Regions from separate parts of the Homo sapiens genome. Here all the other regions are linked to region 4. The links are contacts of gene promoters, found by promoter capture Hi-C in blood cells and fetal thymus (Javierre and others, 2016). All regions are on one chromosome and are shown on one strand. The core of a region is centred on a gene start or on the middle of the fragment in contact, and the rest is flanking DNA. Distances in the headings are between cores, read along the strand shown. Region 1 overlaps IBTK (inhibitor of Bruton tyrosine kinase). Region 2 has its middle 15 kb from the start of SNX14. Region 3 overlaps SNX14 (sorting nexin 14). Region 4 holds the start of CEP162 (centrosomal protein 162). Region 5 has its middle 3.2 kb from the start of SYNCRIP. Region 6 has its middle 7.3 kb from the start of SNORD50A. Region 7 has its middle 3.9 kb from the start of IBTK.

What was found. The method cuts DNA at HindIII sites, captures the fragments that hold promoters and counts their contacts. A CHiCAGO score of 5 or more calls a contact.
Region 1: a contact is called between a fragment that was not itself captured here and the fragment with the promoter of CEP162 in region 4, in 1 of 17 cell types (total CD4 T cells). The highest score is 6.0, in total CD4 T cells.
Region 2: a fragment that was not itself captured here is called in contact with the fragment with the promoter of CEP162 in region 4 in 1 of 17 cell types (naive CD8 T cells); the score reaches 5.9 in naive CD8 T cells.
Region 3: a contact is called between a fragment that was not itself captured here and the fragment with the promoter of CEP162 in region 4, in 2 of 17 cell types (naive CD8 T cells and fetal thymus). The highest score is 7.2, in naive CD8 T cells.
Region 5: a fragment that was not itself captured here is called in contact with the fragment with the promoter of CEP162 in region 4 in 3 of 17 cell types (naive CD8 T cells, fetal thymus and naive CD4 T cells); the score reaches 9.7 in naive CD8 T cells.
Region 6: a fragment that was not itself captured here is called in contact with the fragment with the promoter of CEP162 in region 4 in 1 of 17 cell types (non-activated CD4 T cells); the score reaches 5.2 in non-activated CD4 T cells.
Region 7: a fragment that was not itself captured here is called in contact with the fragment with the promoter of CEP162 in region 4 in 2 of 17 cell types (total CD4 T cells and non-activated CD4 T cells); the score reaches 6.0 in total CD4 T cells.

What each region holds. Positions count from the first base shown.
Region 1 is chr6:82,229,148-82,233,175 of GRCh38, forward strand. IBTK (inhibitor of Bruton tyrosine kinase) reads right to left here. Exons shown (of 29, transcript NM_015525.4): 4 at 2,571-2,695. Among named protein-coding and RNA genes, the nearest start is that of IBTK, 17 kb to the right of the region's middle. The HindIII fragment of the contact is 1,716 bases long and covers 574-2,289 here.
Region 2 is chr6:85,606,543-85,610,306 of GRCh38, forward strand. It overlaps a transcript of SYNCRIP not described here. Among named protein-coding and RNA genes, the nearest start is that of SNX14, 15 kb to the left of the region's middle. The HindIII fragment of the contact is 815 bases long and covers 1,317-2,131 here.
Region 3 is chr6:85,588,988-85,592,969 of GRCh38, forward strand. The region is part of intron 1 of SNX14 (sorting nexin 14); the gene reads right to left. Among named protein-coding and RNA genes, the nearest start is that of SNX14, 2.9 kb to the right of the region's middle. RefSeq lists enhancers at 3,362-3,947, 3,948-3,982. The HindIII fragment of the contact is 1,660 bases long and covers 1,397-3,056 here.
Region 4 is chr6:84,224,890-84,228,912 of GRCh38, forward strand. It overlaps CEP162 (centrosomal protein 162), which reads right to left and starts at 2,754. Exons shown (of 27, transcript NM_014895.4): 1 at 2,691-2,754; 2 at 1,448-1,563. The coding sequence starts at 1,504. RefSeq lists enhancers at 2,167-2,667, 2,668-3,168, 3,070-3,229. The HindIII fragment of the contact is 5,497 bases long and covers 2,491-4,023 here.
Region 5 is chr6:85,644,178-85,647,926 of GRCh38, forward strand. No RefSeq gene overlaps it. Among named protein-coding and RNA genes, the nearest start is that of SYNCRIP, 3.2 kb to the left of the region's middle. The HindIII fragment of the contact is 2,050 bases long and covers 336-2,385 here.
Region 6 is chr6:85,668,150-85,671,940 of GRCh38, forward strand. No RefSeq gene overlaps it. Among named protein-coding and RNA genes, the nearest start is that of SNORD50A, 7.3 kb to the right of the region's middle. RefSeq lists an enhancer at 1,061-1,582. The HindIII fragment of the contact is 8,939 bases long and covers 1-3,791 here.
Region 7 is chr6:82,249,775-82,253,495 of GRCh38, forward strand. No RefSeq gene overlaps it. Among named protein-coding and RNA genes, the nearest start is that of IBTK, 3.9 kb to the left of the region's middle. The HindIII fragment of the contact is 4,001 bases long and covers 1-3,447 here.

The DNA.
Region 1 (4,028 bases), core at 182-2,681, 2.0 Mb before region 4:
GATTTCTTTCCTTCAAACCTACCCACTGTGCTTGCTTCACCCTCATTCTGTGGTAAATAAAATCCCTTAGATCCTTAATACCTTCACAAAACACGCCCACTGCCTTGCCTTACCTGAAATGTGGCTTTCTCTTTGAGTACACTAGTTCACTCACAACCCTGGCAAATGGAATATGCTCAAATATTCCAAACTATATATTTCTTTGGATCAGACATTTCAATCACCCTCTGATTTCCTAATGCCATCATGATTCCCTCACTCTTGTCTTTAAAATCCCTGCTCCGTAACAGCTCATGAAATAAAGGTATATCATGTACTACCTCAAAAAAGGAAAAACAGGTGTCTTTCTTGTGCCACAATTCCAATCAATCATTAGTGGCTGCTAATGGTTGGATTATCATTTTAAGGAGGAGTCTGAGGACCCACTCAAGCTCAGCATGAGAAAAAAAAAACTGACTAGCATGTCTGCAAAAAGCTCTAGACTAGGTGAGCAGCTTGTACACTTGCTGCCCCTGCTCTGATTTCTCACCATCTTGCTCACCCCTCTCACATTCACTAAAGACTTGGACACCAAGCTTGATTCTCGCCCATCACAAGTCCTTTCATTATCCTAAGTTCCCTCCACATCTACAGAGAAGACCCACAAGAATATTAGCTTTCATGACACCATTCTACTCCCTACTTCTCTAGCCACTTTTCATTCCTATATGGGTTTTTATTCCTGTTCTCTCAAAATTTAATATTCTCTAGAGTTTAAGGATTCTATTGCTTTTTTTGTTCAATTGCTGGTTGTGATGCATTAGGTTGTGACTTTTAGTTTAAAAAATAGTGTTCTATGGAGCCCTAAATATAGTGGTCATATTATTTATCATGCAAACATTTTTGAGAATGAAAGGGGATACTAACAATTACACTAGGAAAATAATCATAAACCAGAACTGTCCTGGGCAAACTAGGGATATGTTGTCAAAGTAGCTCTAAAAACTGTCTAAGAATTCAATCTCAGGATATAAACTAAGTGTTGTTATGTATGTCATATATAAATAATAGGTGAAAGTTGGAAAGAGCCAGTACTATAGTGATAAAAACACTCCAAGCTCATATTCTGGATCAAAGAAGTTTTATGAACTTCAAAATGCAGAAAGAATATAACTAGGAAGTTGTAGGAAATGTAAGTTGAAATGGTAATTTAGGAAGACTGAAAAAGTTCTTACATTCCAAGCCACAGAGTTTGGACTTTATCCAAAGGTGACTTAGTAGATAAACACATAATTAGCTCTTTTTTAAGACAAATAATTCTGGAGAAGAATATTATTGGGGTTGAAATGAATGGAGCCAAAAAGTCAAATTAGGACACTGTTGTCACTGTCCAAAAAAAGAGCTTGAAAAGGACATGGCACCTAGGTTCATGAGACAGAAAAGAACTAAATAGACATGCTCTGAGGTATCATCTTCAGGATTTAGAATTTGAGATTTATAACATTAAAAATTGAATAGGGTAGTTTAGGAGTGGCAAAAATAACACTTCAGACATTCTAAATTTAAATATCTTGAAAGAATACCCACAGTACAACTGAAATAAAGTTCAAGAGAAAGACTGGGGCTAGAGATACACATACATACACACATATACACAATGTAATACAGAAAGATTTGTCAACAGTAGCTGTATCTGGGGAAGTAGAAGATATCATGCATTGTAAGGATATAAGACCACAGACCAAATCTTTACAATTGTATCTATTAAAATTTTACAATTACTTACATTTAAGAACTCAGGTTCACAAAAAGCATCACTCGTGCCTAAGCATCTAAGGGCAAATTTTTGAACCCCACACTTCCAAAACATTGCTTATCTGTCTCCATAAGTGATGAAATTTTAGTTCTATCTACTATCCAAACTGAGAACTGAGACTTAGACATTTAATTATTTATTGCTTGTCAGTGTGAATACAAATAATTAAATAGAATGACTGGCAGTTTACCAGACCCTCAGTTAAAAAACTCTATAGCCTTTCCAGACTGCTGTCATCCAACTTCACATAAGATTAAACATATTCTCTTCATGATAAATAGCTTGGAACCTAAAAACATTATTTTGTTACAAAAAATTGCAAGAAGTGTGTTGTTTTCTAAATTGAAATTATTTTATTTTTTAATGCCACCAAAAAAAAAAGAACTGTTGTTCACTTATCAAAAATAACACTGAGCTTCAACAACAAATTCACTTGAGAAACAGCTTACAGAATTGTAATGTTTGTTAAATAGAAAAGCTAGAAAATCAAGAGAAGCTTTACCCTCTTAAATTAAACTACTATCTGTATAACATTTTCTAATTTCTAACACTAATTGCACAAATATCTTATATTTTAGGGTATTTTACAAAGTCTAAATATAATTAAGGCTAACAATATCTAAAATAAAATTAGCAAAGTTCTATTGATTGATTTCCTCATTAAAATGTTACTGTACCTGAAACAAAGTTATGTAATCCACATGAAAAGCTGAACAATCAAATACAAAAGTTCTTTCTCATCTCTAAAAGTATATAGATTGTACTTCAAAAATACCTGCTTGATATAAATCCCACTCCTGGAGAACAGATCCACCAACTCTGGATGATGTTTGCTATTCTGGCTTCCATGACCCAGGGTAAAATTTGTATTATCGCCCCAAGTATAAACATCTGTAGGATCTAAAATAAAAATTAGTTTTTATACTTTTTTATATTTTAAAACACATATAAGAACTAATTTAACTACAATATTTAGAAAGATGCCAACGCTCTTCTCTGAATGAATATATTAATATGATATTAGGTAATTCTAGAAATAGAAAATCCAAATCATAGTACAGGCCTGTCTCAATGCAAGCAATCAAACATTTGTTCCTTGCTTCTTTTTTTTTTGTTGTTGTTTTTTTTTAATAATTGAGACAAGGTCTCATTATGTTGCCCAGACTGGTCTTCACCTCACGGGCTCAAGTGATCCTCCCACCTCGGCCCCCCAAAGTGCTAGGATTACAGGCATAAGCCACTCTGCCCAGGCTGTTTCTTGTTTCTTTAGCAGCTAAAGTTTAACTGCCAAATGAGTAAAACACCACCGGCCATATCTACTTAGTTTCCATGAAAATAATATATAGAACTGTATCAAATGTAAGATATTATTAATCCACACATACAAAGGTTCTAAATGTTGCAAATGTGATATTACTCTTTGTACAGGAACACTAACTTTCAATACTTTGTTTTTCATAGACACAAAATCACACTAGTGATTAGGGTAAAGCCCATTAAACTGGAATACAAATCACAGCTAAGTTCATGATATAAATCTTCATTTTTATTTTAGAAGATGAATAAAGTCTTAGAATGGAATTATCACTGTTAACCTGCAATGCAGTATCCAGGGTAGAAATAGAAATACAGAATGTGTCCTTACTCAGCTTGCTTACTAGTTAAATGCAAACTATACAGTGCCCCAATTAAATCTTTTCTTTTCTGCCAATTCCCACTTCCAAATCTCAAAGAGCAAACAAACTGGAGGGATAAGTGAAACTGAGAATGTGTGAATAAAAAAATAATTGGAGCCGGGCACAGTGGCTCACGCCTGTAATCCCAGCACTTTGAGAGGCCGAGGAGGGAGGATCACTGGAGTTCAGGAGTTCCAGATTACCCTGGTCAACGTGGCAAAACCTCACCTCTATAAAAAAAGTATAAAAATTGGCCGCACGCAGTGGTTCATGCCTGTAATCCCAGCACTTTGGGAGACCGAGGCAGACGGATCACCTGAGGTCAGGAGTTCGAGACCAACCTGACCAACATGAAGAAACTGCATCTCTACTAAAAATACAAAATTAGCTGGTCATGGTGGCTCATGCCTGTAATCCCAGCTACTCAGGAGGCTGAGAGAAGAGAGCCTCTCAGCTTGAACCCGGGAGGCGGAGGTTGCGGTGAGCCAAGATCGCGCCATTGCACGCCAGCCTGGGCAACAAGAGCGAAACTGTCTCAAAAAAAAAAAAAAAAAAAA
Region 2 (3,764 bases), core at 474-2,973, 1.4 Mb after region 4:
ACAGTAAGCAAAAAAGGGAAAAATAATACTAACTACAGTATCTGCTTGCTGTGCCCCTTTGTTGATCCTCTCCCAAATGCTAAATAAATCTCCAGGAAACCAGAGATCAACTAGGATCTGTTACATGACAATTTTACAATAAAGGCTGTCTTTTAATTCCATGTTTAACTGTACCTGTAGTTAGGCAGGAAACCAAAAGGGAACAGAACCTGTCTTTAATACTGTTGAAGAACTCCTAAGAACTTAATTTCTGCAAATTCATGTGAATTTTTACTATTTCAAGGAAAACAGCAAAGGAGGTAGAGGTATGAATGAAATTTGCCAAAACTACACTGTATACATGTGGCTCTAGAGTGGAAATGAAAAGTGTATTCTGCCATTTTTATAGATGACCTTTAACATTGTTTATTTCTGGTTTTCCTCTAAGTATATTCCAAATATTAAATAAAACTGAGAAATACAATTTGTACATATGCTTTTCTAATTTTTCATGACGTGTTAAACTAAAAGCAACTGGAGGCCTAATTCCTGAGTCTTCCAATTAAAGCAACCAATTAACATAAATACTGACATATTAAAGATATTCTCTTAAAAATGATGTCATAAGGGTTTTAGTATACAGATGCACCTAGCTTTAGCAAATTTGTGTTTAAATGATGCAGTACTCATGTAACACAAATGCCATGTTATTCACATTTCAACTTAAAGTTAACACTATTAACGAGCCATAACAGGTATGCTGGAACTCTTCTTGTATATCATGGTGTTTCTATAATTACAAGACCTAATTTTACCATATGGAACCTACAAAACTCTTTAACAAATTTCTTATTGTCAGCAAGCCCTGGTCTTATTCTTTAATCTGTGGTAACAACTTGTCCACACCAAATACTTTGCCCTTCTGCCCTGAAAACTCAAAAACTGCACATCAAAAATGATATAAAACGCCAAATCCCTTAGGTTTCCTAAAATTCTCTCCAAAACAAGTTGAGTTTGTCACAACAATCTCCTTTTCAGAATACAGCTGAAAGCCTAAAAGAAGGCAAGAAATGACAATTCATAAACATTACAGATAACCTTTATAACTCCTTTCTAGATTAGAACCTGTTGTAAGCCACTTTATAGACAAAGTAGAAAATCAGACAGTCAATTAAGTTTACAGTATATTATCCTAAAATAACCTTATTTTGATCCCACTGTGTTAGAAACCCATTTTAGGAAGCTGTAACACTTGGAGACACTAATTTCCAAAATGGTTTATTAGGACTTCTCCCACACTCAAAGTCAAACTTCCAGGACTGTTCTGAAATGATGAAAGCTTCTTTTCGATAATCAATATAAATGTTGTTAATCCAAAATAGAAACTAAAACCTGCACTAAGTGACCTAAAAAGTCTTGTCCTGATGGAAGTGGCCAAAACTGCTCGTCCCGCAACCAAGAAATCCTAGGGGTATAAGCTAAAACCCACAAATATATTGGCAAGTCCCCGATTCTTTCCAAATTACCACTAACTTTATCAAATCCAATGGCAAGTACGGGACAACAGAATATTTCCATCAAAAATTAAGACCAGCCTAATACATTTATTCTATTCATCTTCCAGTAATGTGATTGCAACTGAGGATATCTTGAGGAATTTTTCACCATTGGCTAGTTACTTCGAATGTATGGATAATCAAAGGGCGACAGACCTCTAAAGATTCCAAGTGTCTACTTAAAAGCTGTTAAGTGAAGAGTGATGAATTGGAGGACACCCACAATAATTCTTGGACTCCTGGAGATCCTAAGACATGCTACAAAAATAGGTCTTTATTCTTAGGAAAATATAGTCAGAGCTAGCTTCCTTATGCTATACATAAAATCTTAACATCAGAGGCAGTACAGATAGTACAGATAGTTTTTGAACTGATCTCCAAACAAGCACAAACCCACTACGTTGAAAAGAACAGGTAATTTGAGGTTTTTGGCAAAAGACAGTACTTCACACATCTAATCCAAATCAAAGGGCCTGCAGACAGTTTTCAGTGAGATGAAAGGAATGAAATAAATATAAATTCTACGGATAAATAAAACACAATTTAAATAAGCTAACAGAACTAATTTTTTTAAATAAAAATACTAGTCAGGTACAAGCTTTTGTTTCTCAATGCCAGACTTCTAAATATTTACCAGACTACTGTTAATATTAAAAACCTAATCTTTGACCCAGAGCGTTAGTAATAATACTGGTTTGCATCTGCAAATTTTCAAACTGAATGCTTCTGGTCCTGAAAAATATTTTAGGTGTATTACTGAAGGCAGACTGTGGTGCTAATAGAATTTAAGTCTTAAATACTTTTAAAAAGTGACAGACCCCAAAAGTCCATCTACTAATTTGCTAGTTAAAAAATGCCTGTGAGCACTGCTTCATAATTAGCATCTTAAGAAAAGTAGTGGCATGCCCTATTGAGTGGTATCATCACTGAGTAATTAATACACCTTAAAACAATATCCCCACAAGTCTGTTTCTTTTATGTATTTGTCACTTAATTTCTTTAGTCATTAATTTTACACCCACCAGTGAATTCCTATGGCCAGATGAAAATTTTGTGGTATACATAATTAGAGAGAAAATGATCATGGTGGGTATTCCTGTAAGTTTGACGAACTTGAGAAGTTTTAGCACCCTCCCCTAAATGCATGAAGCCCTTCTATTTAATTTCTCTCCTTAAAATAGAGACTACGTAAAATACTCTGTAATAATAAGGGATCTTTTGCTGTTTCTGACAACTTTTGGCTTCGCAGTCAAAAAAGCTGTTCTGAATGTGTCAATTTTTGCCTATCTAGCTTGATGTTCATTCTATTCTTTAAAAACTTTTATATACAATAACTCAGATCACCCCATCAATCCATTTCTATGTTGTTCCTATTTTATCATGAGGAAACTTTACATTTTAAGTCAGATTCACAGTAACTGGTAGAAAAGTTTCTTAAGCTAAAAACTGCAATCATGAGTGTACAACAGTTGTGTGTGTGCACACTCAATTTTCCCTTCATTTTTAACATCTGATTCAGTGGCAATGGCTGAAAACCTTCCACAAAAAGCATGCTTGGGAGAATATATCTAACAAAATTTTCTCACAAAGCAACTTTCTGAAAACTGATAACCTAAATTTATGATCACTTTTGATTGCCAAGTAGTCTGCAGAAACAAAATCTTGCGTCTGTTTTGGTTAGATAACTTAAGTTTTCTTTTTAACATCAGAATGCTTTAAGAATACATTTTTTACCCCAAGGAAGGGACTTGACTCGGATTTAAGACCCTTTCCTTGACAATATACAAAATTTCTTTTAACTTATCACTGTCCATTCTTTGAAGCTGTCAAAGCCAAGAACCCATAAACAAATCACAAATAGCAATAACCTACATTAGTTAACATTCCCCCTTTAACATGTTGACATTTTTACTAAAGGATTAGTTATTTTTGCATTTCCATTTCTCATATCCCATGACATTCCATATAAATTGCATTATTGCTTTATAGGCCACACAACATTCAAAAGTATGTTTATATGCATTGCCTGTTTTTCCTTGATCTGATAAGACTTTGATACTGATTTTACTACAGAAATTTAAGTTTGAAAATACCACAGTTAGTATTTCTTCTCAGAACGTTAATTGTTCACATCACTAATCACTACATGCATATTTAGCTCTGATTATATTGCTCAAAAACTGCACCCATTATCAGAACAGTGCAAATGATATTTAATTTTAAAAGTAA
Region 3 (3,982 bases), core at 977-3,476, 1.4 Mb after region 4:
GCAGAAGTGGCAGGCACACTCGACTTTATAGAAGTACATCATGATTTCTGCCCGACTTTTTGCCGTTTCATTTCTCTAAAAACATTTTTATATAGTACTGATCTTTCTTCTACCATTTGCTTTAGATTCAGTGCCAGTATCAAAGAAGGGTCCATGTGATAAAAGAAGTGAAAAGCAGTCTTGATAATTGAAAACCTTCTGCCATATTGTCTACTGTCAATTTGTGTTCTGGCACCACTTTTTTTTTTTTTTTTTTTTTGAGATAGAGTCTCACTCTGTCATCCCAGCTGGAGTGCAGTGGTGCCATCATGGCTCACTGCATCCCAGGCTCAACTGATCTTCCCCACCTCAGCCCCCCATGTAGCTGGGACTACAGACGTGTACCTCCACATCCAGCTAAATTTTTTGTATTTTTTGTAGAGACAGGGTTTCACCGTGTTACCCAGGCTTGAACTCCTGGGCTCAAGTGAGCCATCCACCTTGGCCTCCCAAAATGCTGGCATTACAGGCATGAGCCACTGCATTTGGCCCCTGGCACTGTTTCTTCAAAGTCTTCTTCCTCACTGTCTAGCACTGGTTCCAAAGCACTCATCTTTATCAAGTTATATTATGTTAATTCCTCTGGTGTGATGTCTACTGGCTCTTGAATTTCTGTAAGATCCTTATGCTGAAAGACCTTTTTTGTCATATCCACAATCTCTTTCATGATTTCCTTGATTGGCTCTGGTGTAAATCCTGTGAGGTCACGCACAACACCTGGGCATAGTTTCTCCACTAGTAATTTATTGTTTCAAGTCTGATGGCTTTTACGGCTTTTTCTATAACAATGACTGCATCTTCAATGGTGTAATCCTTCCAAACTTTCATGATGTTCTCTCTATTGGAGTTCTCTTCCACAGCACTGACAATCCTTTCCATAGAGTACCATGTGTAATGCCTTAAAGTTCTTTATGAACCCCTGGATTTAGAGGCTGAATTAGAGACATTATGTCTGGGGACAAGTAGACCACTTCCACAGCTTCGATGTTGAACTCATGGGGTTCTGGGTGGCCAGGGGCATAGTCCAGTATCAAAAGAATTTTTAAAGGCAATCCCTGCTGGCAAGGTACTTTCTGACTTCAGGGACAAAGCATCAATGAAATTAATCCAGAAAGAATGATTCTTGTTGTCCAGGCCTCCTTATACAACCACAAGACTAGCAGCTGGTACTTATCTTTTTCCTTCAAAGCTCGGGGGTTAGACACTTCATAGACAAGGAACCCAACTGCATATCCATAAAATAGAAGAATTTGCGTACACCTTCCTGCCTTAAATCCTGGTGCTCATTTCTCTTCCTTACTAATAAATGTCCTTTGTGACATTTTTTCCAAAACAGGTCACTTTCATCAGCATTAAAAGCTTGTTCAGGGCTGCTCTGCCTATGGTGTAGCCATTCTTTTATTCTTTTGCTTTCTTAATAAACTTGCTTTTACAAAAAAACACCCACTCAGGAAGATATATTTAATACTTTCTCCTCAATGATTTTCTGAATGGTGTTTGGGAACTCATCTTCTGCCTGTTGGTCAGCAGAGGCTTTTTCTCCGGTTCTCTTGACATTTTTTAAGCCAGATCTCTTCCTAAAATTATCAAACTATCCTTTGCTGGCATTAAATTACCCAGTTTTAGATCCTTCTCCTTCCTTCTGCTTTAAGCTGTTATACAATGACTTCACTTGTTTTTGAATAGCATTAGTTTATATGTATGCCTTTCTCATAGCAATTCTGCCCCCACATAAAAGCTAAATTTTCAATAAAACATGAAAAGGTACTTTGCAAAAAGTACGAAGTTTTCACACCTGCTGGCATAGCTGCAGCAACAGCTTCATGAATTTCCTTTTCTTTTTTCACAATGGTCCTTACACTCAATTTATTTATCTTGAAATGGCAGGCAATCACAGCTGCAAACCTCAATCCATAGTACATACCAAGCATTTCACTTTTTCTGTAATGTCATTACTTTTCTCTGCTTCTTGGGAGTACTCCCAGTATCATTAGTGGTACTTTGTATGGATCCCATGGTATTCCACTCGGATTTCTGACTTCATAGGGGTCAGTGGCCCTAATCTCTGCACTGTTCAAGGATCAACTTCATATAAAATTATTTTTTATTTCAGAATAGATGTACCTAGTATACCCCATCTCAGAAGGGCCCATGTTTTCTTGTATAACAACATTTCAGAGATACTCTTATCATCTGTGTGTGTGTGTGTGTACGTGAATACACACATAAGTTTTTTTTTTTTTAATCACACATATACACTGAAAAGCATGCTACATACACCATCTGGCACCTTCCAAAAGATTTTTCCTGGAAAAGGGATACATAATCATGGTTTTATTCAAGACAGTTCTAGTGTTTAAAATCACTTTTGCTGACTACAGCAGTAACAAATGGAAAACACCAAAACATATGCAAAAACAGCTTCACTCATAAACCCAACCACTCAGGTAACATTTACCTGTATTTCCTACCTTCTCTGCATAAAAGAAATACAGGGTACAGGTTAGATGGTATACAGATCAGATGGCATCCTATGACTTTTTAATAACACACAACACTAAATGTTATGACCATAAGTAGATGACCTCAGAAATCTAGTTTAACCTGCTCCTACTAGATGGCTCTCCTACCTTAGAAACCTAAACTGACCCAGTTCCCAAAAGAGGTAGGTAAGAATCCATGGACAAAAGTTAATCATATGGGCTGCGTGCAGTCGCTCACGCCTGTAATCCCAGCACTTTGGGAGGCTGAGGTAGGTGGATCACTTGAGATCAGGAGTTCGAGACCAGCCTGGCCAACATGGTGAAACCCCCGTCTCTATTAAAAATGTAAAAAAAGTAGCCGGGCATGGTGGTGCCCACCTGTAGTCCCAGCTATTCTGCAGGCTGAGGCATGAGAATCACTTGAACCTGGAAGGTGGCTGTTGCAGTGAGCCGAGACCGCATCACTGCACTCCAGCCTGGGCAAGAGAGTGAGACTCCGTCTCAAAAATAAAAATAAAAATAAAAATCATATGAAGCTTACATTTCTTTCATACTAAACCTGTTAGTCTAGCTTGGAATACCTTCCAGATGACAGAAAGCAAATAATAATTAGTGTTCCCTCTGTTAAGGATCCCACTTCTCCCACACTCCTACAGTTCAAACATCTCACCATCACAGAGCACACTTCTCAGTAAAACATCAACTACTATTTAAGCTCAATAATATTTAAACCAAGAATCAACAAGAAAGCAAGGCCACTTTTAGGGAAGAAATCTAACTTCAACATAGTCACAAATAATGGTTACACCAGAGAAAAATGAAGTTACCAAATTCCTTGCGCATTCCTCCCTGTTGCTATCCTTGGGAATCAACTACCTTAAGATAAAGAGTAAGAATGGTTGCCTGTTCAAAACATCAGAGAAAACAGCTTGCGGATGCTGTCAATGAGAACTATCTCAGATTTCTTTCCACCAAAAGCAAATCTGGTGTTAATTTTAATGGAAAAGTCTCCTCTACTACCTATTGCATCGCAACAATTTCTTGAAATAGTAAAATGAAGTAAAACAAGTTTATTTCGGGGGCAGAATCTTCTGATTTCAAAATGTCAATTGAATTTATCAATTTTAACCTTTCGGAATATTTCAGGTTTTTTTGGGGAGGGTGGCATCAAGTCCTCTTAAGAATATTATAGGGATGTGGCCGGGTGCGGTGGCTCACGCCTGTAATCCCAGCACTTCGGGAGGCCGAGGCAGGCGGCTCACGAGGTCAGGAGATCGAGACCATCCTGGCTAAAACGGTGAAACCCCGTCTCTACTAAAAAAAAAAAAAAAAAATACAAAAAAATTAGCGTGGTAGCGTGGTGGCGTGGTGGCGGGCGCCTGTAGCCCCAGCTACTCGGGAGGCTGAGGCAGGAGAATGGCGTGAACCCGGGAGGAGGAGCTTGCGGTGAGCCGAGACCG
Region 4 (4,023 bases), core at 1,504-4,003:
GTGTCTGTATTTGAAATTTTAAAAAATCAACTTTTCAAATGGTAAATGAAACTTATTCCAAGTGCCTATTACATCTTGACAATTGGTAGATGCTTTTTTAAATCCTTAAAACAATTCTACAAAGAAGGCATTATTTTTCCATGAGACGGATAATGAAGTTTTTTTGTACTACATTAAACTCCCTTTTTTAACAAGAATGTATAACGTATAATAGCTTAAAATGTGACTCTCTTGAATGCTCTACAAGGCCCCTCCATTTATATAAATAGAGTTTTATGCATCGCTTAATTATGGGGATATGTTCTGAGAAATGGGATTTCATCATAGGAGCATCATAGAGTATATTTACACAAACCTAGATGGCTCCATGGTATAGCCTACTCCACACCTAGGCTATATGGTATAGCTTATTGCTCCTAGGTTACAAAGCTGTTCAGCATGTACTGTACTGAATCCTGCAGGCAACTGTAACACAATGGCAAGCATTTCTGTATCTAAACATAGAAAAGTAAACATATGGTACAAAAGATTAAAAAGATACACCTTTATAGGGCAGCCCCATTATAATCTTACGGAACCATTGTTGTATATGTGGTCTGTTGCTGACCAAACCATCTTTATGAGGTGCATGACTGTACACAGAACGTGGTATAACCATTTAATATACTCATTCAAATATTTATTAAGTATTTATTAGGTACTGTAGACATAGTAGTGAACATGTTGATATATAATAGCAATGAACGTAGAGTCATCACATTACAGACCATACATTCTTATAATGGGAAGCAGAAAACAGACCCATACAAGAAAAATAATTAATGTGCTAAGTGCTATAAAAAGAATTAAATACATACCAGATTAAGAAGTGACTTTGTGTTTACCTTTTACTGGATAAACAGAAGAAGCCTCTCTGAAGTGGTGATATTTAAGTTAAGATTTTCACCAGCCAGGTAAAGAGTAAGGGAGGAGCATTATTGGCAGAGGGAACAGTGAGTGCAAAGCTCCTAAGGTGAAATGAGCTTGCAATGTCTGGGAAAGAAAAAAGGCCACTGTGGAATAAATAAAGTGGGTGAAAGAGGGATATGAAGGCAGTGAGATATGTAAGAGTGAAATCATGAAAGGCTTTAAAACCATGGTAAGGAGGAGTTGTTTGTTTTTTTTTTTCTACATGTGATGGGAGACCAATAGAGTCTTTTACTGGGGAGGAACAGAGTCTGACTGCAGTGTGGTGAAAGGAATGCTGGACCATGAGTTGAGAACTGCTGCCATAGCCCAGTTGAGATGATGGCACTGAACTAGCAGTGGCAGAAAAGGGACAGGGCTAGAGGGATGATGGGAATTCAGAGTTTGGTGATGGACTAACTGTATCTTCGAGATGACAGAATTGAAGGATGAGTCTTTTGAGACAAATTTGACAATATAGCTTTTAAAAATATAAACTTACCTCTTTCATAAACTGTTCAAACTCTTCATCTAGCTCTTCTTGGGAACAGTTAGCCATAGTCAACAATTTTGACCTCCCAAAGTAAACATTCTAAAGTACCTCAAACATTGGAAACACTAAATGACAAGAGACATAAACATCTTTTGAGGAAATCCATCAGATCATGAACACGACCAGACTTAAACTTCGGACATTTGTTATGATTCAGTATATATGCACAATTTTTTTTAACCAGTAAGAGCTGGTCAAGAGATTCCTAATTCATTAAGCAAACTGATTTGGAAAAGCAGCTTTGACAGGATGTCTTGTACTCAACGTTCAGAATTATGTTTTCATCTGTTAACATCCAATTGTTAAAGAGTGGTCTCTACAATATTTCCCAAACCTATGTTTGTGTGCATGTGTTAATTAGTACCTCTCAAACACAAACCAGGTCCTCACAGGGAATCTTAAAAACTGTAAGTTAGCAAATCCAAAGGACTGTTTCTTTCTTGCAAAGCACACGACAGTTTGTGCTGCCTTATCACTCGGCTCGTTATTTTACCAATCCATAGTAATAGTTTCGTAAAGCAGACTGCATAGTTTCGTAAAGCAGACTGTATCCAGATACGGGGATGTTTCAAAATATACACAAATAGAATTTAGTAAGAATTAGTAATTTAGTCAAAATACTTAAAGAATACTTAAAGTTAATGGAGTACACAAATCAGTACTATGTTTCTTTTGAAGCGAGGGAAGACCGACAAAAATTATGTGCTGAACACAAGCAGAATCCAGTGATTTGCAACGGAAAGCGTTCCCCTAGACACCTAATGAACCCAACCTTGGGTCGACCCCCAGCTCCTGAACTCCCTAGAGCAGCTCAAATCCCAGCTTTCTTCTGTAGAGATGGGGGAGGGGAAGAGGGCTTGCAGACCCGGACAATACCCTCCCCATCGTGCAGAGTAACACCTCTTCCCCTCATTTGCACTTTCGATCAGTTCAGGGTAAGTGCGGTTAAGGTCTTGGCCTGAATAGCTTGGTCAGGGGTGAGCTCCACTAAAAGCTTCTCAAGCCTGGCTGCGACCCCGTCCCCAGAAGCGCGGGTTCGGGAATTGGAGGGAAGACAAAGACGCATTTGCCGTGGGCTCCGGGCGGAGAAGGGGAATGACCTGGAAAATTAAAGCCCTTCGCTCGAGTATGAAGCACGGCCTCGACCAGGGCGATTTGGGTGGGAAACCAGCGTTCACACCTTACCACCTACCTCTGCCTCTGAATTCCGCGCTTTCCCGGAAGGTCTGTGCGGGTCCACCAGTTGTCAGGGTAACAGACTTCAGCTGCCGGGTTCTGGAGTCACATGACCCGGGCTGGTCACGTGGGCCGTGGGTTTCCCAATGCCTTTACAAGCGAAGGTCGGAATAACCACGGCTGAGAAAGACACTCTAGTGGCTAAACCTTCGCTGCTGCAGTAAAATGCCTTTCCTTCCCTGGCTTTCTCTACGTTCCTTAGAAAAGGGGACAGCGGCAAACCGGTTACTGGAGAAGCGAGACGGAGGCTTCCAGCAGGCTTGGAGGGCGCGGTGGTTGTAGGCCAGCCCGTGGCTTTCTGGGAAATGTAGTTTAGCTCCCCTGGTCCTTGTGTTTCCGCACTCCGCATCGTCGCCTCCCGCCTTCCCCACACTTGTCATTCGAGCGCTCTGTTTTTCCAAGGGGCAATTTTGAAGAGATTGAATTTCTTGGATTTCTTTGGCCTGCAAAGACCTGTGTAGGCATTGTGAGAGAAACACAAACCTGTGAGGAAAAAAACTGTCGTTTAGATGGGGACTCTGTTCCACCACCTAGTGGGCAAGAAATCGAAAATACGCAAACAGCAAGATTCTTATTAAGTTATTGCTCCTCCCGCTACCCCTACTTTTCAAAACTGCATTCTTTACTGGCATTTCACAATTACTGACTTGGATTTTGTTTTCTATTTCTTTTCTTTTTTTCAAAGCATGCAACATTAGCTGGAGTTTCAGAGGACAACATTTAGCATAGTGTAAGTAAAATCTACAACAGCTGCAGGTTTTGCTGATGGTAGACTTAGTTCAGGACCTCATCTTTAGCTAGAACTGTTTATTCATCAAGTCTTTCTTGCAATACAAATATGTACAAACCAGGAGCTGTGGACTATGATGCAAATATGAATAATAAAAGAAATATCTTAAGCTACCATTTATTGAGAAGTTGACTTCCTGCCACCTTCTATCAAAGACTTACCTTCCCACATATGATCTAGAGCCTTTACCCATTCTTCTTCTCACTGATCTTGTTCCACTGGTCATTTCCCTTAATCCTGTATCTTCGACTTCTGGCTGGCTGTGGGATTTTTCCTAACAGCATTTGAACATGCCTTGAGATCCCCACCTAAAACATCACTTCTGACACATTCTCTTCATGCTATTATTTCCCAGTGGTTGAAATGATCTGTCTCCTCACCTTACTTGCCAATCTTTTCTGAGGAATTATTTCCACTTTACCTCCCTTTTGTCAGACCTTTTAATCCTGTCTCTGTGTGTGTAAGTGTACATATATGACAGCGCTTTATTTGATCTCCC
Region 5 (3,749 bases), core at 111-2,610, 1.4 Mb after region 4:
TTGGAAGCGAAACCGCCCGGTGGTGAAGGGTTGTGCAATACTCCGTTTCAGTCCCTGGCCTTTTAAGCAGTTAAGGGCTTCCTCCTGGCACAGTTTGAGCAACTTGAAACAGCACAAAGCTGCGTGGTTAGAACAACTTTGAGAAAAATGTCTGTGTTTCTTTTAAAAAAAACCTTGGCAACTAAATCTTCTGTGAAATGACGTTTCCTTTATAATCGTTTACTAGGTACAAGAAAGACAAGACAAAGGCATTTGAATTACAGACGCGATATGGATACTAATTTTATCCAGGGCAGCTGTAATGAAAAATAGAAACAATGTCCTTTTGATTAAAAAGCTTATTTTTAAGAGCTTACTGGTTCCCCAGATGAGCTCTGTGCTATGATAACAAATCAGTGGTTTGAGGAAAAGTTAGATAAACACTCTTCAAAGTGCACAAGCACATAAAATGCTAGATTATTTTCATAGCTACTTGGATCAGATATGAAGTATGTTTTAGCCAAAGCACCACATAGCCAACCTGTTTAGTAAGGATTTGAGATCTCCACCACCCCAGATTCCTTACTATCAAACATATGTGATATTCAGCTGCTTCAGCCATAGGGATTTTTGTTCACAATGCAGAGGTCGTGGTTAATGATATACATGAAAAACAAAATGTTTAATAGAAAACTATGAAAATAAGAGTCATACCATGGATTAAACAAGAATAAAAATTGGCCGGGCGCGGTGGCTCACGCCTGTAATCCCAGCACTTTGGAAGGCCGAGGCGGGCGGATCACAAGGTCAGGAGATCGAGACCATCCTGGCTAACACGGTGAAACCCCGTCTCTACTAAAAATACAAAAAAATTAGCCAGGCGTGGTGGCGGGCGCCTGTAGTCCCAGCTACCCTGGAGGCTGAGGCAGGAGAATGGCGTTAACCCGGGAGGCGGAGCTTGCAGTGAGCGGAGATCGCGCCACTGCACTCCAGCCAGGACGACAGAGCGAGACTCCGTCTCAAAAAAAAAAAGAATAAAAATGAGTCTGAAACATGTAACACTTTGTTTAGACCTTCCTGGGTATTAAAAAAAATTTTTTAAAGTGCCTTAACCTGGGCAAAGCTCCCAAATTAAAATCTCTAGCTGTTCTCTGACATCTAATTCCTTTCTCTAGCCACGCCCTCAATGTTTATGTGGGCTTTCTGGCACTCCAGATGGGCATTTCAAGAAACTGAGCACGTGATCTTCCCCCAGTCTTCCGTCTACAGAGTTCCCATCTCAATTAACATCCCCCACATGAATTGCTGGAGCGGATCATTCAAGGCACTTCCTTCTCTACACTGCCATATCAGTTAATCAAGTCCTATCAATTCTGTCTCCCAAATATATCTCCATTTATCTCTATGTTGCAACCACCCAGGCAAAGCCACCATCATCTACCACCTGTACTAATGGCATAGCCTCCTGATTCATCCACTCTTACAGCTGTCCTAATCTGTTCAAAGCCCAAGTCATCTGTCTTTCTGTATGACTCTCTGTCTCCTGTGTAGGCTCTCTCCCTCCCTTGACCTTCTCTATCTTAATTGCAAGTAAGATCCTATGGCGTGTCTGCTTAAAACCCTTCATTAGCTTCCAATTACACTTAGAACAACAGCCAAAATCCTTAACTAGATCAACAAAGCTCTCTAAGATCTGTCCCACCTGTCTCCCCAGCTCATCTCAGCCACTTTATGGCTTCAGCCTGGCCTTCCCTTGATTCTGGCATTTCTTTTTATTTGAGACGGAGTCTCGCACTGTCGCCCGGGCTGGAATGCAGTACGTGATCTCGGCTCACTGCAACCTCCGCCTCCCAGGTTCAAGTGATTCTCCTTGCCTCAGCCTCCCAAATACCTGGGATTACAGGCGCCCGCCACCATGGCCGGCTAATTCTTTTGTATTTTTAGTAGAGTTGGGAGTTTCACTATGTTTGCCAGGCTGGTCTCGAACTCCTGACCTCATGATCAGCCCGCCTCAGCCTCCCAAAGTGCTGGGATTACAGGCGTGAGCCACTGCGCCAGGGCTCGTTTTTTGGTTTTTTGTTTTTGAGACGGAGTCTCACACTGTTGCCCGGGCTGGAGTGCAGTGGCGGGATCTCAGCACACTGCAACCTCCACCTCCTGGATTCAAGCGAGTCTCCTGCCTCAGCCTCACGAGTAGCTGGGATTACAAGCACCCACCACCACACCAAGCTAATTTTTGTGTTTTTAGTAGAGACAGAGTTTCACCATGTTGGCCAGGCTGGTCTCGAACTCCTGACCTCAGGTAATCCACCCTCCTCGGCCTCCCAAAGTGCTGGGATTACAGGCGTGACCCACTGCTCCCGACAGAGTATTCATTAGTTTCATTGCTGTCTTTTCGTCCATGTAAGCTTTGAAACAGTGAGAAGATGCAGCCCTGTTGAGTTGGCAACTAATGAAAGAGAGGAATGTAGGCAGGCCTGTTTGGATTTTTTACTTATCCAAAATTCTTCCACCCAGTCAATGCCACACTGCCACACTGTTTTTTGTTTGTTTGTTTGTTTTGTTTTGTTTTTTGCATATTTTCTTCTCTTCTTTACTGCATTTTCTAAACTTCCTGCCATTAACATATATTAATTTTATAATGGGCCAGGGAACCCTTCAATTCACAGGGTAAAAATTCACAGCACACCATTACTTTTTCCATAGAACCATAAAAAGCTAGTGTTGAAAGAGACCATGGAAGCCATTCAACCTAATCTTTCTAGTAATCAAGAAAATTTTTGCACTATCTCTCACATCTTTTTTTTTGAGATGGAGTCTTGCTCTGTTGCCCAGGCTAGAGTACGGTGGTGCAATCTCGGCTCACTGCAAGCTCCGCCTCCCAGGTTCACGCCATTCTCCTGCCTCAGCCTCCGGAGTAGCTGGGACTACAGGTGCCCGCCACCACGCCCAGCTAATTTTTTTGTATTTTTAGTAGAGACGGGGTTTCACCGTGTTAGCCAGGATGGTCTCAATCTCCTGACCTCATGATCCGCCCGTCGCAGCCTCCCAAAGTGCTGGGATTATAGGCGTGAGCCACCGCGCCCGGCGGCACTATCTCTCACATCTTATTTTCATAGTAATAAAAAGCCTGCCCTATCAAAAATTAAAAACTTTTGTTCCAAGAAAGACACTGTCTAGAGAATGAAAAGACAAGCCGCAGACTAGGGAAAAAAAATAATCTTTGCAAAACACATATCTGATAAAAGGCTGTTATTCAATAAAATATACAAAGAATTCTTAAAACTCAACAATAAGAAAACACACAACCTAATTGAAAAATTGGCAAAAACGTTGATATCAAGTGTTAGGCAAATAAAAAACAAAAAAAAAATGTTTTGTTTTTTTTGTTTTGTTTTGTTTTGTTTTGAGAAGGAGTCTTGCTCTGTCACCCAGGCTGGCATGCAGTGGCATAATCTTGGCTCACTGCAACCTCCACCTCCTGGGTTCAAGCAATTCTCGTGCCTCAGCCTCCTGAGTAGCTGGGATTACAGGCTTCTGCCACCAGGTCTGGCTAATTTTTGTATTTTCAGTAGAGACAGAGTTTCACCATTTTGGACAGGCTGGTCTAGAACTCCTGACCTCAGTGATCCACCCGCCTCAGCCTCCCAAAATGCTGGGATTAAAAGCATGAGCCACCATGCCTGGCAAAAAAAAAAATTTAATGGGCAAAAAATCTAAACACATAGCCCACCAAAGAGGATGTACAAATGGTAAATAAGCATATGAAA
Region 6 (3,791 bases), core at 1,096-3,595, 1.4 Mb after region 4:
GTGATCTGCCCACCTCGGCCTCCCAGAGTGCTGGAATTATAGGCATGAGCCACCTCATCTGGCCTGCATTATTTCATTTAATGCATGTAAAGTATCTCTAAAGCATATGCTCTGACTGGAATACCCTGAATTTAATCACAAAGAGAACATATGAGAGCACTGTGGAATCATGAAGACATTATATATCTATATGGACAGGTGGGCTACGTTTCTGGCAGCAGGAAACGGCCCTGTTCTGTTACAGCACTAGCCACAACACAATAAAACCAAATTATGAAGAAACACAATATCTTTTGTTAGAAATTAAATCAACTTAAAAAATTCACAGATTAAAAAAATTTTATTCTATAAATTTCAAACATGTACAAAAATAGAGAAAGAGTATAATAAACTCCAAAGAGCCCATCATCCAACATTAACAATTATCAACTTCAGGCTAATCTTGTTTCATCTCTACCCTTCAACCACTTCCTTTGTTTTCTGTATTATTTTGCAACAAATCTCAGACATCAAATCATTTCATCCATAAATAACTCAGTATATTTGTCTAAAAGATACAGCCTCTTGAACAACAAAAAGAGCCACAATGCCATTATCACATCTAACAAAGTCCCAATTATTTTTTAATACATGAAATAGCCTGTGTTTAAACATATATCTCATAAATTCATTTTTTAAAACAATATTGAATGAGAATCCAACTGGGATGCAAACATTGAGAATGTTGATATATCTTTTCAGTTTCTTGATTTGTAGGTTACCCATTCATCTCGTTTGGTTGGTTTCTTTCCTTGCAATTTATTTGTTATAGAAATCATTTGTAGAGTTTTCCATAGTCTGGATTTTGCTGATTGTATCTTTGTAATGTAGTTTAACATATGTCTTTGTAATCTATAAATTAGTAATTATATCCAGAGGCTTTATCAAATTCATATTCATTTTTGTTGTTTTCAGACAAGAGTCTGAAATAGGCAGAGGCAAATTCTTTCTTCAGGGACATATAATATCTTATCACCTCTTTTTTGGATGTTAGCAGTCATTGATATTTATTGCCTATACATTAATTCATTAGAATGTTGCAAAATGATGATCTTCTAATTATGCCAATCTTTTTTCATTGTTAACTGGAATATATCAATAAAGACAAACTTTTTATCACCTTTTATTTGGTTATGTCAGTACAGTTGGTATTGGAAAGTCCCTTTATTTGCAGTTCTGAAACTGATGATTAGCATCCTTTAACACTTATATTAAATTCAGTTTTTTAAAGTATCATTCTGAATTCATAGATTTGAAGACATGTCTTTTTCTCTATTTTTTCTCTATTACACCTCAATAATAGTCAAATTTTCTATCTTTGGAAAGTGAGAGACTCTCCAAGTTTACTCCTGAGTTCCTTTTTTTTTTGAGATGGATCTCCCTCTGTCACCCAGGCTGGAGTGCAGTGGCGAGATCTCAGCTCACTGCAACCTCCGCTTCCCGGGTTCAAGCAATTCTCCTGTCTCAGCCTCCTGAGTAGCTGGGATTACAGGCACCCGTCGCCATGCCCAGCTAATTTTTGTATTTTTAGTAGAGATGGGGTTTCACCACGTTGGCCAGGCTGGTCTCAAACTCCTGACCTGAAGTGATCTGCCTGTTTTGTAATCCTTGCTGGGATTACAGGCGTGAGCCACCGTGCTTGGCCTCCTGAGTTCTTCTAACACAACTCCAGCAGTCTTGCTACCTGTTATAGCAACGTACAACAAGCTCATCTTGTACATTTCCTGTCTCAGATCTGTTTCCTTTTAGTGGTAAGTGGTATTTAGAGGCCACAATCTGGGCCCTAGGGGTAGGGTTCATAGATTTTGATGTGTATGAATCATACTTGGAGTTTCTGTGTTTTCTTTCACAGTGGTTCCCATTTGACTAAGAATGAAATCCTTTCAATGACCCATTAAGCCCTACATAAGCTGCAGGCCTTGCTTCCTTTCTCACTATGCATGCTCCTTCCTATGGGCCACTGCTATGGAAATGCCCTTTTCCCAGATATATGCACAGATCAATCTCTCACCCTCTGTTAGGTGAGAGATTGAGCTATGCACATATCTAAATCTCTGCTTAATTAATCTCAACTTTTCATTGAAGCCTATTCTGTCAACCCCATTTACTTCAATTGCCTCTCAGATGAGAGAATCCCCATTTGAAACTGCAACACTAATTATCTCCCCAAACCCACTCCCAATGTCTCATATTCTATTTTTTCTGTGTCATTTCTCATTTTTTAACATAGCTTATAATTTATTTATTATATAATGTCCTTCTCCTCTTCCTACAATGTAAGCTCCACAAGGGCAGAGGTTTTTGTTTGGTTCACTACTGTATCTTTAGTGCCTAGGATAGTACCTATACATGGTAGGCATTCAGGATATTTGCTCAATGAACAAATGAATGCAAACCTTGGTATATTTCTGAATCATCACACACTTAGTCTATCAGTATGGTTCAATCTCCTGAGGAACAGATTGAATTGAAAGCAAGCAATATCCTTCAAGAAAGTGAGCTACATCAATATGTGGGGACAAGTCCATGAATTTCAAAACTATCCTGACGTTTCTGGGCATGAGGCCAAACTCAGAACAATGTTTGTGTCCCTCCCTCCCTCCTTCCCTCCTTCCCTCTCTTCCTTCCTTTCTCTTTTTCTCTCCCTTCCTCCCTTTCTCTCTCTCTCTCTTTCTTTCTCTTGAGATGGGGTCTTGCTGTGCCTAGGCTGGTCTTCAACTCCTGGGCTCAAGCGATTCTCCTGCCTCAGCCTCCGGAGTAGCTGGGATTACAGGTGTGTACCATCAAGCCAGACTAATTTTTGTATTTTTAGTAGAGATGGGGTTTCACCATGTTGGCCAAGCTGGTCTTGAACTCCTGACCTCAAGTGATAATGCCCGCCTTGGCCTCCCAAAGTGCTGGGATTACAGGCGTGTGCCACCACGCCCGGCTGCTTTTTTTCTTTTTTTTAAGGGCTAGTCAGTGTACATTCACTTTCGAAAAAGAAATGTAACATAAACTCAGAATCTCCATCAGCAATGAAATTCAAGTCAGAATTACGATGTATCTCAAGGAGTACACCTTACTATTGCTCCAGAGTAGTTTACTGTGTTTAATGCTTTATGTTCTCATTGAAGCAATTAAACTAATCAACTATTAGCAACAATTCCCAAACTGTACTTTTGTTATTTATTTTGTTTTTTGAGACGGAGTCTTGCTCTGTCACCCAGGCTGGAGTCCAGTGGCACAATCTTGGCTCACTGCAACATCTGCCTCCTGGGTTCAAGCAATTCTCCTGCTTCAGCCTCCCAAGTAGCTGGGATTACAGGTGCGTGCCACCACACCCGACTAATTTTTGTGTTTTTAGTAGAGACGGGGTTTCACCATGTTGGCCAAGTTGGTCTCGAACTCCTGACCTCAAGTGATCTGCCCACCTTGGCCTCCCAAAGTGCTGGGATTACAGGTGTGAACCACCGTGCCCGGCCTTAATCAACTACTTTTATACAAAAGTACAGGTTAGGGCCGGGTGCGGTGGCTCACGCCTGTAATCCCAACACTTTGGGAGCCTGAGGTGGGCAGATCACGAGGTCAAGAGATCAAGACCATCCTGGCCAACATGGTGAAACCCTGTCTCTACTAAAAATACAAAAATTAGTTGGGCGTAGTGGCATGCGCCTGTAGTCCCAGCTACTCAGGAGGCTGAGGCAGGAGAATCACTTGAACCCGGGAGGCAGAGGTTGCAGTGAGCTGAGATGGCACCACTGCACTCCAGC
Region 7 (3,721 bases), core at 197-2,696, 2.0 Mb before region 4:
AGTGGGAGAATACCCTGAGCCCTAGGAGATCAAGGCTGCAGTGAGTCAAGATCACGCCGCTGCAACGAGTCAAGATAACGCCACTGCACTCCAGCCTAGGCAACCGGAGTGAGATCCTGTCTCAAAAAATAGTAATAAATAAAAGTTAAAATTACCAGGTCTCGGACAATTTGTGGTAAGCATTGGGGATCCAACAGTGAACAAAAATACATGTAGACCCAGATATTCCCAAGCATAATAAATTGCAACGTTTATAAGTATTAATCTGATAGATTTATCTGACTTCCAAAAGATGTGACACATGAACTAAAGACTGAGCAGAAGATAACTCAGATAACTAGATAACGAGGAGATAAGTAGATGAAGCAGGAAAGAAATAACATTCCAGTCAAAGGAATGTAGAATTGCTCCCCTTTTCCCAGGAAAGTTAGATGCTTTCAAAAGTACTTACTGGTTATTTGCAAGACAAAATATTAAAATAATTAGGAAATAGTACAAATGAAATACAATTAAATGAAAAATATATTGTAGATGTGGTTAAGGGAGGAAGAAATCAAAATGAGCCATTTTGTTTGATTTTTAAAAAAATTTTGTGTTTACACATGAAAGAATAGGTCAAAATATATCTACAATGATTGTTTCTATGGTGGGATTATGGGTGATTCTTAATTTCTATCATTTTGACTTTTGTAATTTTCATTGCAATAATTTAAATATTACTTGAATGATTAAAAAAATCAAAGTTTGGAAAAATAATTGACTAGAGTTTCTAAAGTAGTTTTATTTTTTAAAGTAAAAAATAAAAAAACCAGAGATGACTTTAAAAGATTGCAGTGATGGGCCAGGCACAGTGGCTCATGCCTGTAATCCCAGGAGGCCGAGGCAGGCAGATCACGAGGTCAGCAGATCGAGACCATCCTGGCTAACACGGTGAAACCCCATCTCTACTAAAGAATACAAAAAAAATTAGCCGGGCGCAGTGGCGGGCACCTGTAGTCCCAGCTACTCGGGAGGCTGAGGCAGGAGAATGGCGTGAACCTGGGAGGTGGAGATTGCAGTGGGCCAAGATAGCGCCACTGCACTCCGGCCTGGGTGAAAGAGCGAGACTCTGTCTCAATAAATAAATAAATAAATAAAAAGATTGCAGTGATGGGCGGAGGGAGTAGAAAAAGAATAGTACAGGCATCAAGAGTGGAGCACTGCAGAAATATTTCTAAGCCACATGGCATCTATAATAAACTCCCTAAATACCATTTTTCCAAAATAAATTGGTAGTACTATCCTTTATAATTAAAAGTACTGACATCATTATGTGTATTTTGCTGTCTTTCAAGTTGTATAGGAGTAGGAAATGACAGTGCTGGTGGCAGAAGAGAAAACACTAGAATTTGATTAGAAACCCAAACCTGATTAGGTTCTACAAGAATGATTTTTAGAGGAAGATCAATAGTGCAGCTGGCCTAGAGATGACTGGAACCTTATTGTTTAGCCTCATTCTCTTCTACTCCACACCATCTTCTACAGGACATCACTGGTTGACTACAACTTTCTGGCACACAAATTAAGTACCTCACATAAATCACATATCTCACCTCAGGTTTGCCATTAGGGAAGATAGCACTGAGCCTATTATCTCAAGCACAAAAGTTCTAGGCACCTGACGGACTCATGTCGGCTTGGATTAGGTGAGGAATCAAGGATAACATGATTGACATCCTCTATTAGAGTCATGGTTAAAGCAGAGTGAAGAGTAGTTCCCCAAAAGAAAGCAGGGTGAGGCAGACAAAACAATAGGCCACATAGGGTGTTTGTGTTCTTCTGGATTCAGGTGTATGGTCCCAGCTGCGTTCTTCCTATAGAATCATTATCTTTCCAATCCTTACTTACAGAGGGTCACCTCCCCACATATCTGTGAAGACTTTCCGGATGGCCTTTCCTAGCAATTATTCCCTTTATACTGCTTCTATCACTTAGTCATATAATGTATCACACTGTTTTATTTTTAGATTTGTTAGTTTTACTCCTGGAGACAAGGATTCTAGAGGCAAGGTGCCCAGATATAAAGTTTTACTCCTATGCTTACTATCTGTGAGATGTCAGGCAAGTTACATAAACCCTCTAAGCCTAGTTTCCTCATCTCTGAAATAGGGTTAATAGTATTGCTTTCATAAAGTTCTTAAGAAGTTTAAATGAGATTTTATATATATATATAATATAATGTATATATTATATATATGAAGCTCTTAGTACAACTCTTAGCAACTTAATTGACATAACCTGAAATGAACTGCCTGGATGAATCTGTTTCCACCAAATTAAAGGGTGGGATGGGGAAACAAAGAATAACCCACAAGGTGGCAGTATTTGAATGTAACTTTAGAATCTTATGTTTAAAAGCATAGTCCACCAAAAAAATCTGAAATTCAAGGCAAATACTGGAGAAATTCAAGGTAAATTCAAAGCCTAGATGAAATAAGCAGAACTTTGAGATAAATCAAACTTATAAACTTAACAGGCTTAGTATTCTATTACAATCAGAACACTGAACTCCTAAAAGTCTTCCCTTTACGATGACTGAAAAATGTATCATTTGCCTTTCTCAGCCCATCTTACTGAGAATTGCTCCTATTCCTTTTCTACTTAGCTAAATAATTAAATCTGTGTTGTCACTATTAGAAAGAGAGAGAGAGAAGAAAGAAAAAGAGTGAGTTTGATACATAGTGGTTGGAGCCTTCTCTTCATGCCATAAATCCCTAGGACTGATAGAAAAGACATACTTAGGCCGGGTGTGGGGGCTCACACCTGTAATCCTAGCATTTTGGGAGGCCAAGGCAGGCAGATCACCTAAGGTCAGGAGTTTGAGACCAGCCTGGCCAACATGGTACAACCCCATCTCTATTAAAAATACAAAAATTAGCCGGGCATGGTGGCAGACACCTATAATCCCAGCTACTCGGGAGGTTGAGGCAGGAGAATCACTTCAACCAGGGAGATGGAGGTTGCAATGAGCCAAGATCACACCACTGTACTGCAGCCTGGGCGACAAGAGCAAAACTCTGTCTCAAAAAAAAAAAAAAGAAAAGAAAACATACTTAACATACTTAAACTTATCAGTGCATTGGAAAACAAGAACCTTGGCCATTGAAGGTCCAGAACTTATGAAGAGTCCTTGAAAAGTGGATAAGAGGCTAGATTGGGAAAAAGTAACAGCCTGTGGTGTTGTGATATATATATAGGTTTTCATCCACAGCTCTTGGCTCATAACTCCCATAGCCCTTGTTACAGTCATTTGTTATAAAGTTGGGTATGTTAGACCTCAGGAACAGGCCTCTGACCTTCTCCTGCCCTTCTTCCATAGTTTCCGCACCTTTCTGACTCTGGGTCTTAAGACCCTCCCACGAGAGAGTCCCACCCTATACCCTGCGGGAAGGAATGCTGATGTCCTGAAGCTTCCATAAAAATCCAAGAGGACAGAGTTCATGAGCTTCCAGATAGGTGAACACATGGAAATTCCTGGAGGGTGGCACACACAGGGAGGGCATGGAAACTCCACGTCCCTTCCCTCATACCTCACCCTACGCGTCTCTTCATCTGTATCCTTTGCAATATCCTTTTTAATAAACCAGTAGGCCAGGCGCAGTGGCTCACGTCTGTAATCCCAGCACTTTGGGAGGCCGAGGCAGGCGGATCACCTGATGTCGGGAGTTCGAGACCAGCCTCA